Linked DNA regions of Homo sapiens: region 2 is linked to region 1. Evidence: promoter capture Hi-C in 16 types of primary human blood cells and fetal thymus (Javierre and others, 2016). All regions are on one chromosome and are shown on one strand. Each heading gives the region's core, a stretch centred on a gene start or on the middle of the fragment in contact. The rest is flanking DNA. Distances are from core to core; before and after follow the strand shown. Region 1 holds the start of CNTN5 (contactin 5). Region 2 overlaps LOC105369455 (a long non-coding RNA gene).

Evidence for each region. Contacts are between HindIII fragments. The CHiCAGO score rates a contact against its expected background, and 5 or more counts as called.
Region 2: a fragment that was not itself captured here is called in contact with the fragment with the promoter of CNTN5 in region 1 in 1 of 17 cell types (megakaryocytes); the score reaches 5.6 in megakaryocytes.

Annotation. Positions count from the first base shown.
Region 1 is chr11:99,019,157-99,025,417 of GRCh38, forward strand. It overlaps CNTN5 (contactin 5), which reads left to right and starts at 1,793. Exons shown (of 25, transcript NM_014361.4): 1 at 1,793-2,114. RefSeq lists a silencer at 4,170-4,370. The HindIII fragment of the contact is 2,136 bases long and covers 123-2,258 here.
Region 2 is chr11:98,449,034-98,455,316 of GRCh38, forward strand. It overlaps LOC105369455 (a long non-coding RNA gene), which reads right to left. Exons shown (of 3, transcript XR_947946.3): 3 at 4,330-4,994. Among named protein-coding and RNA genes, the nearest start is that of LINC02713, 500 kb to the left of the region's middle. RefSeq lists an enhancer at 4,044-4,544. The HindIII fragment of the contact is 797 bases long and covers 948-1,744 here.

The DNA.
Region 1 (6,261 bases), core at 543-3,042:
CATCCTTTCTAGGGCAAAGCTAGTTGAAAGAAATTATGTGACATAATGACTCAAAATGCCCAAATTATCGGATCATGGGTAATATAGAATGGTGTTCTAAGAAGGGAAGAGAACTTTCAGAAAGCTTTCTACACTCCCGATCCCTCTTTCAGGCTGCATGTGCTCAATTATACACTTTTAAAGGCAAAAACCTCATCGAACAATAAAAAGAATGCGTTAGAGCTCCTACACTTTGAATTTATTTTGTGATGTATTTAATGTGGTTATAAAAGTCCTGGTAGTTCTCTCTGTGAACCGACAGCCTGACAGAGGAGAAGAGCCAGTGGGGCAGAGAAAAAGCCACAGAAGGGGAATCTCCACAACGATCCCTCAGTTAACACATAAAGAAGATAACCTAGTTACTGGAAAGCAGGAACACGAATATAAAAAGTATGGAAGAGTGGAGAAGTATTAAATGCACACAAATTTGTCTTTGCTACAGAACAAGCAATCAGCCTAGATCCTGAGGATAGCGATTAAAAGCAGAGACTGGGTGTTTGTACATCATTGGATGAATGAGAAGCAGCCAAGAAACAGGAAAAGACTAATTTTAATTACCAGAAAAACTGCAAGAGAAAGAACACAGGGCTAGTGGTAGACGGCTTCCAGCTACAGGCTGCCTGGCACTGTACTCTCCTTGCCAATTAGAGCCAGTCAGACCCCATCGGGGGATTCAGTGAGCAGAAGAATCAGCGTCAGTCCAGGGTCAGGCTGCTCTCAAACACACATGAAAAACGGACACCAGCGGACACGGGGTGCGACCCTAGACTCCCATGCAGTTTCTTATACAGACACAGAGATAGAAAGCAGTACGTGGGATTTCCTTTCCATTAAATACAGGTGCAAACCACATTCTCTATGGAAATATATTGCAAAGGAAATGTTATATAATTTATTTAACAAATACCCAATTACCATCAGCCCAATCGTGGGAATTGGAAAACGACTCAAAGACTGAGAGGAAAAAAAAAAAAAAAGTAGAGAGGAGGACTGGCAGAACAATGGCACTAAAGCTGCCACACTGTGGATTTACTACCTGTGTTATTTTTCCAATTACAGCCATTGTAATATAAAAATTCCGAAAAAAAGGTTGCTGAGACCATTCCTTCGCTTTTTTTTAGAACTGAGTCAACACCCCAAATCAAAGAGAAATATAAACAGGCAGAGCCTGATAGTCCTTAGATGAAACGCGTAAGTGCAGAAACAAAAGAGAAGTGCTTCCCATTCAGGACTTAAGAAAATTCTGCAAAGTGAAAAAGTCCACTCTCAAACCGACCTAAGTGAACGCGTCAGTCTGTGCTGCTGCTGTCAGAGGTGTGAGCCGGGGACTACAGGAATCAGAGTGAAGACAGGAGCGGAGGAAGGGACTCTCGCCTGGATCTCCCGTGCCGACTCCAGCCAGCACGTTTGCTTTGTAATCTATGAATGTTAAATACGGAGGGGTTGCAGAGCAGAAACGCTCGGGGAAGGGGGGCAGGTCCTCTGTACTTAGCAGGGAAGGAAAATGCCGGTTGACTAGTGAGACGAGTGGAGAAACACAGAGCACCCTCCGGGAGGCGCACAGTTCGTTAAGCCCAGGGACATGCTCAATGAACCTTTGCAGCAAGAGGCAGTGAGGCGCTGGACGCGGGCGCCGGTGACAGCGCGGGCGGCCGGGGAGGGGCGAGGGGCCGCCCCGGGAGGACACAGCCAGTCAGAGGCGCGGGGCGCAGGGCGCGCGGACGCATTGGAGGAAAACACGCGAGCCCCAAACACACCAGCCGCAGGAGGCGCCGCACCTACTTCCCAATATAACCAACTACGGCGTGGGGGAGCGGAACTGCGAGAAGGCGGCAGCCAAAGTGCCATTAAAGCTCGGGGCGGAGAGGATGCGTTACCTGGGTCCCGTCTGCTGCGAGAGGCAGGGCAAGCTGGAGGATTCCCTCTGAATGATTAAGAACTCCGCAATTCGCCTCTGCCACAGGCTGCAAAGGACCCGAGGAACCGCTCTCTCTGAACTGTGCTGATGGGCAGGAGGATGGGAGACAGGAATTGAGAGTCACAGAGGAAGGACAGTGGAGTCTGGCATCTTATTGGTAAGTGGCTGACATTCCTTTGCCAGTGACTGCGTTCTGTGATTGTGCACTTCATCTCCCAGCCACTTAGGATTTTTGACACACTCTGTTCTGCAAAGCCATCCTTTCTTGCCATGTTGCCAGAATGTAAAAACTGTAAGATGAAGCTTTTTTAAATAAAGGAAACAAAACACGACTTTATTTCCTGCTGGGATTTTATGGCAAAAAGTTGAAACAAGAGTAAATATAACCTATTTGTATATCTCCTAATGCCACCCAAAATAAGAGTAAGCAATTCCTACACGCAAATTGCAAATTGTAAGGCAATAAATGCCAGGATAAAGTGAGGATGTTTCTACAAAAGAAACTAAATGTTTGGAAAATAGGATGCCGTTCTCAGGTACTGAATGTATGCCTTATGTTTGAGCAATGAGTTTCCGAGACTAAATAATTGGGCATCTGGCATTGCAATAACTTGTTAAAATTCAGTAGGGATGCTCTATAAGTGGAGTTCTACAAAGTTCGTGAGACTGAGAAAAACTGTATCTTGGATTATGCTGAGCTTTTTTCTAAAGGTTGTATAGGATTGTGATAGATTAAAAAATTATGTTCAGACATCCTTACCATGTTTTGTAGGGAGATATACGGAAGAGAATATCAATTTGCACATACACAAACCTGAGAATTACTCTGATGACCTGAACAATAAGTTGTTTCAACTATATTTATTTGCGAAAGAACCAGAATCCACTAAATATTTTAGAATTATATTACTTTTAAATCTTAGAACTGTTCTCCCAAGAAAAATACAATTTCATGTGGTAATTTAAATGCAGGTGAGAAGCAAAAAACTTTTAAACTGTTGTATGTTCAATGCCTTACCTACATTTCATTCATTTGTTTCTTAATTTAAAAGAGAAAATCATTTAGAGGGTCAATACTTCTACTTTGATTCTCAATTACGACTGTGGAAATAAGGATGAAAGAAGTAGATGTTCATTAGAATACTAGCATTTAAAATTATAGACAAATAGTCAAATTTAAAAATTAATGCAGATATCATCGATTACTGTTGAATTGCAACAGAATTACAGAAGTACTTATGACCATTACAGGGAGCTTAAAGGAGTTCATTATGATTAATATTGTGACTCTCAGTATTTTAAAAAATAATGATTAGGTCATTAACTGTTTTTGAAAATGCCTGTAGTCAATTTTGAGCAATTCTCATGGTTGCTTGCATATTCTCCTATTTCATGCTCAAATTATTCTAAGTTAAGTGGGGACTAGTATGCTGAGTCTTAAACTTAACAGGCATAAGTTTACTCTGACTCTAATCGAAAAGAGGTATGAGTAAGAATATGTCATATAAAACTAATGATAACAAATTAAAGATATTACATAAAAAGATCATCTAAGTCCATTAAAGGGAAAAAGGCAAAAAAAATCAGAGTTAAAGTTATAAAAAGGGAAATTCAATATAAAGAATAGAATTTGACAAATAGCTGGAGTGTGAGGGAATGATATTAAAGCCTATCTGAAAATAGAAAGTCAGTGAAATGATTATTACAAGTGCCAGTGTTTTTGCTTAGGAATTGGTGTATCCTTTAAATTATTTAAAACTTCTGAAAATTGAGAAAGGAGGAGAAAAACTGCTAATTTTAATTTCTTTCTGATTCCATAGACAACTGAACAGAAAGTTAGATTCTTAAAAGTTATATAAAAATATAATCCCATAGATTAACTAAATGCCGGACTTTGTCTATAAGTTGTGAGGCACATGCACACCAAGGTGCTTTTGGAAATACATCCAAAAAGCTACAGTTGTGGAATTTTTAAATGAATAGCTGAAATACCTGAATGTTTCTCAAGGTGAGCAGTTAGTACTTCAAGTATTAGGTGGTCTGAAACAATTCTTAGTCAGGGAGCCAACCTGAAATCAAATCATGAATCTATACATAGAATATGTTTATGTAAGATGAATCATTAAAATTAGTAGCATGTAAAAATTTACTTCAATCTTATGTGTCCAATTAAGTAGCGCTATCTGTTAGAAATGTACCAGGTTTGGCTGATATGTATTTCTTTAAATGTCTCTTTTACTTCACAGTTTAGAAAATCTTGACCACTTTCAGGGTAGAGGTAGGAGTGTGATTGTCTGTCACAGCTGACTTAGCAATATGGACCAGAGGGTGCCAGTAAAGGGCAAAGGGCCCGCATAGGCTGGCCAAAGCATTTTGGAGTTTGTCTTACTTCTAGACAAAATAAAGGCATAATTTGTGAAGATTAAAATAAAAATGATGAAAACTTCTCTAGATGGCTGTAATACTGTGAAGATGATTTGACTGTAGAGAGTTTGATTGGCTAAAACAAAGTTGTAGCAGAGTTTAGTGTCTCCTTCATCAGTCAAAAACTAATCCAGAATTTTATGAGGCTCAGATATTTACAATATTGTAATTTGCCGAATCCATTCTTTCTCATGTATCTTGATTACCTATTGTCTTTGAACTTTCTTTTAAAATACGGGTTTTTAAATTTTTACCAAGTCGTTGGAAATTTATTTCTCTTACTTTAAATAATAAACTCATACATTCATGTAGTTTGTTTTCTTGAAATTCTGACTCCAGGAGTTGATTTTATCTCTCTTTCTTCTTTCTGACAATCCAAGCATAAAGTAAGAGAGTAATATGTTTCTCACAAGATGTTAAGAACCGTGTTGTAAGGCTGTGCTAACATGTTACATGAACTTCTTAACACTTTATAGCAGGAAAGAGACTGGTCGGAAGCTCAAAGCGGTAGAATCACTGCAGAGGTCTATTTTCTGAGCATTTGTGATCAATAACTCCACATTAGAGGCTGGTACATTTTAAAAAGTAATGAAGTATATAAAACTCCTAATGCTTAAGATTTAAGATTAAAAACTATTATGAACTATATTCCATCTCCCTACCCACTCAAGTAAGAAATCCTGTTTTATGATTTTTGGAGATTCAAATGTGTATTGTTAGAAGTGTTCTAATAAACTGAATATTATTAGTTTATGTTTTTTCCAGACACTTAAACAGTGTTTTAGTTAATTATTTTATTTAAATTGAATGACACAAAATATAGTGTTTTAATACAGTGGCTATAAAAGCAATTTTTAAAGGGAAACATGAATTTGCTTTTTAAGAAAACTGGTTTTACAATGGATTTCTTTCATCAAAATTATTTTGAAGTATTGAATTGAATCCCAAGAAATTGACACAACACTGTATAACTTCAGTTATGTTTTGCCTATTATAAATATTTGCATAAGCTAATTGTAGATAATTTTATGTCTATTAATCCCCATAAATTAAAACACACGTCTTTAGTTTTATATCCCAGAGTAGTGCATGTTATATTTTTGACATTATACCCTCCTCAAACATAAGCTCATACGTGTTACAAAGCTATTCAAAGTATGGTAGTTTCTCTTTTCTCCAGTGCAGGGAACTGGGAACTTTCCAGAGAGGCCACAAAGTAATTGTGAAAAATAAATCAAGATTGTCTGTTTTATGGAAATAAAAAAAAGAATCTCATTTTTAATCTAATATAAAATAGTGTGAGATCTATCATTCATGAGAATCTTAAGAAATTACAGTCATATTCATTTCCTGTGTATTTCTTAAGCTAGAATTTCTTGTGATCACTGCCATTTTTAAACGTTTCAGAAAATGTTTCATTAGATACATTTTAAAACACGGGTGTAAAGTTGTTTTTTCTCTTTTTCTAAGTGGTTCTTAAAAACTCATAATGATCTAAATAACTTGTTGCCCAATGGCCACTTTTTATTTATTTATTTATTTTCACAAATGACCTTCTCATAACAGATCCGACAGGACTCACCTATTTCCTCTTATGCCAGTCATGTTTCCAAATATTTCTCACACTCAATTTGCATAGAGCGGAGATCTAGATAAAAAGCAAGAAGCCAATACATTTTATGAGTTTTCTATGAAAAATATTGTTACAGTTAGTATCTTTACTAGAAAATATGGAGCCAATTAAAGGGAAAGTGACTAAACTGAACAGAATCCAAATAAGCAATTGCATTTTAGGCAAGGAATATTTCATTTATCTGAATGATCAAAAATTCTCTTTCATAACCATTGACTGGAAAAGTATAATTATATATTTAAACATT
Region 2 (6,283 bases), core at 96-2,595, 570 kb before region 1:
TGTTTCAGTGAATTGTTAGCTCTAGTAGCTATCATAAAACAATTTTCTTGTACTTTTTTTATGCCTAATAATTGACTCAATTATTTTAAATAGTCATGTAAAGAAATAAGCAACCCACTACATTTGTCTGTGCTTGTTTGCTCCAGTAATCATCAACAGAGAAAATAAAAATTAAAATAATTTGTAGAACTTGCTTTTCTCTTGGTAGAAAAATATTCAATATGTAACTGATAATTGAAATGAGAGACATTTGTTTACTCCTAATATACTTTGGTATATTACAGCTGAAATGAACCCTGTAATCATTTACAAATATTTTAGTATTCATCAAAATGTGTTACATATACAGATAAAACTTTTGTCTCACTTGTAATAAATTCTCCTTGAATCCCAAAGTGCTGATATCCATGCTTTTGAGTTATTGTTAAGGAAATTGAGTAGGAATTTAATTTGCCTGATAAGTGATCACTTCTTGCTGAAACAGCATTGTATCACCAAGGATAAAATGAATCCTATTAAAACAAGGCAAGACCAAGCTGTAAAAAAAAAATTTGGGAGTTTTGAGATGAAAATACTCACTGTATTTTGCCAGTGTATTGGCATCCCTCATAAGTACATAATTTCTGCCAGTTAGTAATTTTGTATAAAACGGATGACAGAACAGTTCTCTTCATTGAAATGTAGGAAGTGTTTCATTGTTTGCATCTCTATGGTGTCAGATATTAGCTTTAGCTTATAACATATGCTCTCATTGCAGAGTTTATTAGATTCTCCTAGGTAGAATTACAAGAGCAAATATAACAGGCTTTGTTCTGATTTTCCCATATCCTTAAGGTCTATTATTTTGCAATATTTTGACATTTGAAAAAAAATTCCTCTGGCAAATACTTAAATTGAATTTCTTAAGAATTTTTTATTCAAAATGTTTCTTAATGCTGTGAATGAAAAGCTTGGCTCTATGTGTGTGTGCGTGTGAGTCTGTGCATGCATATATATGTGTGCTTGCATATGTATACTGAAGGGCATATGTGATATATGTACTGAATTAGCCAACATTTTCCAGAGAAACAGAACCTATATATAGACAGATGATAGATGATAGATAGATAAATAGATGACAGATAGATATAGCTATAGATGTGGATATAGATATAGATAGATATATAATCTGAAGACAGAGGAAAGCCAGTGGCGTGATTCAGTCAGTCTGAACATATGAGAACCAGGAGCAGCAATGTGCAAGGGTGGGCAAAAGAAGATGGATTTCTCAAGCACAAACAGGAAGCAAACTTGCCCTTTCTCCACCTTTTGTTCTATTCAGGCCCTCAAGGAATTGGAAGATGCATACTTCGAGTGACTTTCTTCACTCAATCCACTCAAGTGCTGATCTCATCCAGTAACATCCTCATTGACACACCCCAAAATAATGTTTTACCAGCTATCTGGGCATCCATTAGCCCAGTCAGGATGACACATACAATTAACCATGGCATGCATCCGTGCACATATGTTGGTGTAGATGAGTGGTTAGGAAACAAAAGTGTTGAAAAATTTATATTGTGGATATTCTCTTACATTTAGCACTATTTTATCTAAAATGTTTGGATAATCAATTGACTAAAAAAGATAAAACTGGGAAAAAATAAATGAGCATATAAGAGAAAACAATAATGAATCAATTATATGTGAGTTTTTCAGATGTCTCCCCTCATCTTTCATTTCCTTTTCAAATGAATAAATTAAAAGCTTCCAAAATAGCAGTCGAATAATTTTAGGTGTAAATAAACTTGGAAGATTTCTGCAGTTCCATACAATTGTTTTACTAATACGTTAAAGGATTCACAGTGAAATAATTAAGACTAAATAACAAGGATAAAATTTTACCTTAAAGAACATATTTTTGGCCCAAGTACGATGGGCCACAGCTCTTTACAAATTAGAATTTAAGAGTTAAAGTGCTAAATTTTGTTGGTGCAATTTATTAGGTACTAATGGAAATATCATGCTTATGTAAAAATAATGAATTAAGATTGTTATTTACAGGTACTTAAAAGTATATCTGTTTGATGATGTATTCTTAGACATATATAAATATTTATACAAATGCATGTATAACAAAAATTGTGATAAGTACAAGGATAAAAATATTGCTTAATTTGCACTGGGGATTTGGGGAGATTCCTCTGAGTGATAATATTTAAATTTTGATGAGAATCAAATGTAGGAATTAGCTAGGTGAACAGTAAGACAGAGTGTCTCAGGGAGAAACAATATTATGTACTCAGGCCTCAAAGCAGAAGGCAATATGTTGCTCTTGCCTTTTCCAGAATGTTGTAGAGTTGGAACAGTATGTAGGGTTTTTAAATTGTCCTCTTTTACTTAGTAATATGCATTTAAGTTTCTACCCTGTCTTTTCTTGTCATAACAGCGCATTTTTTTAGCACTGAATAATATTTTGTTGTCTGGATGTAGCACATTTTATTTATTCCTTCACCTATGGAAGGACATCTTGGTTGCAAGTTTTAGCAATTATGAAAAAGGAGCTATTAGTATCTGTGTATGGGTTTTATATGGACATATGAACTCAACTCCTTTGAGTAAATATCAAGGAACATGAATACTGGATAATATGGTTAGAGTATGTTTTGTTCTATATGAAACTGCCAAACTGTCTTTTTTTTTTTTTAGTTTTGCATTCCAACCAGCAATGACTGGGAGTTTCTGTTGCTCCACATGCTCGTCAGCAATTGTTATTGTCAGTATTCTGGAGTTTAGCCATTCCAGTGTCTCATCGTTTTACCTCTACTTTTTGTATACAGCTTTAATGCTCTCCCTAAGAAACACAATATAATACCTAATCTTTTCACAGTCTTCTAAATATTAATATTGTATCACTTGTCATAAAATGTAGAAAACTTCCATTTAAATCTTTCCTTATCATCTTTCATTTTATCACTGTCAGATGAATTGTATTTGCATACATCTAAACTCTACATGCCTGTGTTATAATTTTTGTTTTAAATAGTGATTTAAGTTTTTGCTTTTGCAATCATAACTATTTAATCTTGAATCTTTTCCACTTCTACTTAATATTTTCAATGTTTTTCTTGATATATTTCTCTGAAAAACTTTTCCCAGATATCTAATATTTCTGATATTTTTATGTTACCAACTCAAGTGTTGATTCATGTCCACAATCTTCCATTTTTGTGTACTTTTTAGAATCCTCATTTCCTTCCTTCCTTCCTTTCCTCCTCCTCCTGCCTCCTCCTCTCTCTCTCTCTGTCTTTCTTTCCAGAGTCTCTTGCTCTGTCACCCAGGCTGGAATACAGTGGCGCGATCTCTGCTCACTGCAGCCTCCACCTCCTGGCTTCCCAAAGTGTAACATTACAGGCGTGAGCCATCGAGCCCAGCCTTTCCTTTCCTTTCTTCCCTAGAGGTTTTAGTTGTAATCAGCAAAGGAGAATGGCTTTATTTTATTTACACTACCATTCCCGAACTCAATTTTTACCTCACAAAGTTTTGATATATTTTCAGTTTTATTTTGGTTCAACTATTTTCCCCAAGATTTCTTCTTTGACATGTGAGTTATTTAGGAATGTGTAACCTAATTAGCAAATTTGGGATCATATGAGAGTTTTATTTTGTTGGTATTTTCTAGTTTAATTCTATTGTACTCAGAGATACTACTCTGTGAAATTTCAATTATTTTACATTTTCAAGACATTTCATAAGCAGATTTATAGTCACTTTTGGTAATAGTTGTCCGTTCACTTGGAAAAATATATAATCTTGACTTGTTTAGTGGGACATTATATCATTTTATAGAAACACAGATACATATACTAAAAAGTCAATTAGTTCAAATTTGTTAATTTGTTTTCTAAATCTACTTCATTCTTAATGAATTACTTTCTCTTGTTCTATCATCTACTCAAAGAGGTAAGTTAAAAATATACAACCATGAATGTAGATGATTTCTCTTTCAAATGCTCAATCTGTTGAATTTAGCTATATATAACTGGATTTGTATGGCTAGGGTTACCTTGTGAAATAGGAAAAGTTCCCTTTTTCCCCTAGCAGAGTGTGTGATGGGGGTGTGACTTGCTTCTTCAGTGCCCTGCTGCTCAAACCTCTAGGGGAGCATACAGATGGGCAGGCTATAGGGCTCTGACCCCAAGGCAGCGTCTAGGGGTATGTTTACAGCTGAAACCGCAGCGGGCATGTGTCTTGTGTTAATCAGTTCAGTTAGACCCCTGCCTAAAGGACAGTGGGCTTTCTGTATCCCTGGGTTCTTGCCTTGGTGTACCAAAAGAATTGGATCACATATGGGCTTGGAAAATGAGTGCAAGGTTTTATTGAATGGAAGTAGCTCTCAGCAGACGGGGGAGCAAGAAGGAAGATGGTTTTCCCCTGGAGTTGGGCTGCTTGGTGGCCTGGGCTCTCCTGCGACTGCCCTGGCCAAACTCTGCATCTTTCTGCCGGTCGGTGGCCTGCCGGCATGCTGGTGCCTATTGGTGCGTTCCTCTCAAAGTCCAGCTTCCGGTGCGTTCCTCCGCTGGTGTGGTCCTCTTGGCGTCCAGATGCCTGTGTGTCTGCTTGCTAAGGTCTTGGGGTTTTTATAGGCACAGGATGGGGGTGTGGCAGGCCAGGGTGGTCTTGGGAAATGCAACATTTGGGTGGAAAACAAAAATTCCTGTCCTCACCTAGGTCCATGGGTACAGGCCCGGGAGTGGAGCCCTAGCCAGGGACCATGCCCTTTACCCCTTCCGCATCATTTAAAGGGACCATGCCCTTCCCTTCCCAGCAATTCCCTTCCTCCCTTCCATATCATTTTCCCCCTCTGAAGAAGTACGTGTAACTGCCTTTAAAATATGGATGATGACTGGTCTTAGCCGCTTCCTGCTGATGGCGTATTGTTTTGGGGAAAACAGTAGTCAGATTCCTCCCAGAGGTCTGTCTAAGGATTCCTTGCAAAGAGCAGCCAATGGCTTCTAGGCATGAGAGGAAAAAAAAAAAAAGAAACAAGTTTTATAAGGTTAAGTATGCATGGGTTAAACATGTGTATTATACAAGGCAAGAATGTAGTGCCAAAGATTACAGAGAAAAACATGAAATATACTAACAACAACATTCTACCCCAAGCTGTTTCACCCTGGTGAAAGAAATTAAACCTTGTATGGGAGTGGATAAACTTTAGAAGAGAGATAACTCTTCTTGCCATAGTTTAGCAGTTAACAGGTGTACCTTAGGAACTCTGGGGTTTGTGGGCTTGCACAGTGACCATTAAAACTTCTGCCTCTTTCCTGTATCTCCTCTTTCTTTCCTGGGCCTCCCCGTCTCTATTATAAAAGACCAAGGTGGCCATTTTCAGGAGGGTCCTCTAATGTACTATCTGGTCCCGGGGCCCATTTCTGCAACTTCCTCCTGATATCAGGAGCTTCCTGAGTAATAAACTTTAGGATTAGCTATTCCTTGACTACATCAGGAGATAGAGAGGTGTGCTTTACCAAGGCCTCTCTTAGTCTTTTTAGAAAGGCAGTGGGATTTTCATCAAATACCTGGTCAAGCATCGACAGTTTAGTATAATTGAGAGACTTGGTCTTAGTCCTACATAAGCCCTCCATTATGCACACCTGAAAGTGTCTCCTCTTCCAGGCTTCCATCTCATCACTGGGATCCCATTTAGGGTCATTGCCTGGTACTGCTTCTCTTCCAGTTGGATACTATTCACCCCCTTTCCTCATGCTATATGTGATACAAAGCTCATCCCCAAATCTCTCTGCTGCTTGCAGAGTGACCTGCTTCTCAGTGCCTGTTAGGATCTGATTCAAAGGTAACATAATGTCTCTCCAGGAGAGTTCAAATATTTGGGTGAAATTCTGGAAAACCTCTATATATCTATCAGGGTCATCTGAAAACTTGCCAAGATCCCCCTAAATTTGCTTTAAATCCTGTAGGGAGAAGGGGTCCTGAATCTTACTGGGCCCAAATTCAATAGGCATCTGATGGAGGGGCAAGAGTGAGACTGGGGCTTGTTCCGAGTGAGGATTTCTAGGAGGGGGCAAGTGAGAGTCTGAAGCTGTGTAGGGAGGTTGTGGTAGACCTGGAGGAGCAGGGCTTCAGGGAGCTGGCTCCCCCACTGGGAGTGCTTCTGGGATTCCTATTTTTAATTCCCTGGGCTTGCCCCTTGCATCCTTCCCTGAGATGGCAAATAGGAGGGCTGGATCAATCCTACATTGCTAGCAAAGATCTGGGTTGCCGAGCCCCGGCAACCTTGGCA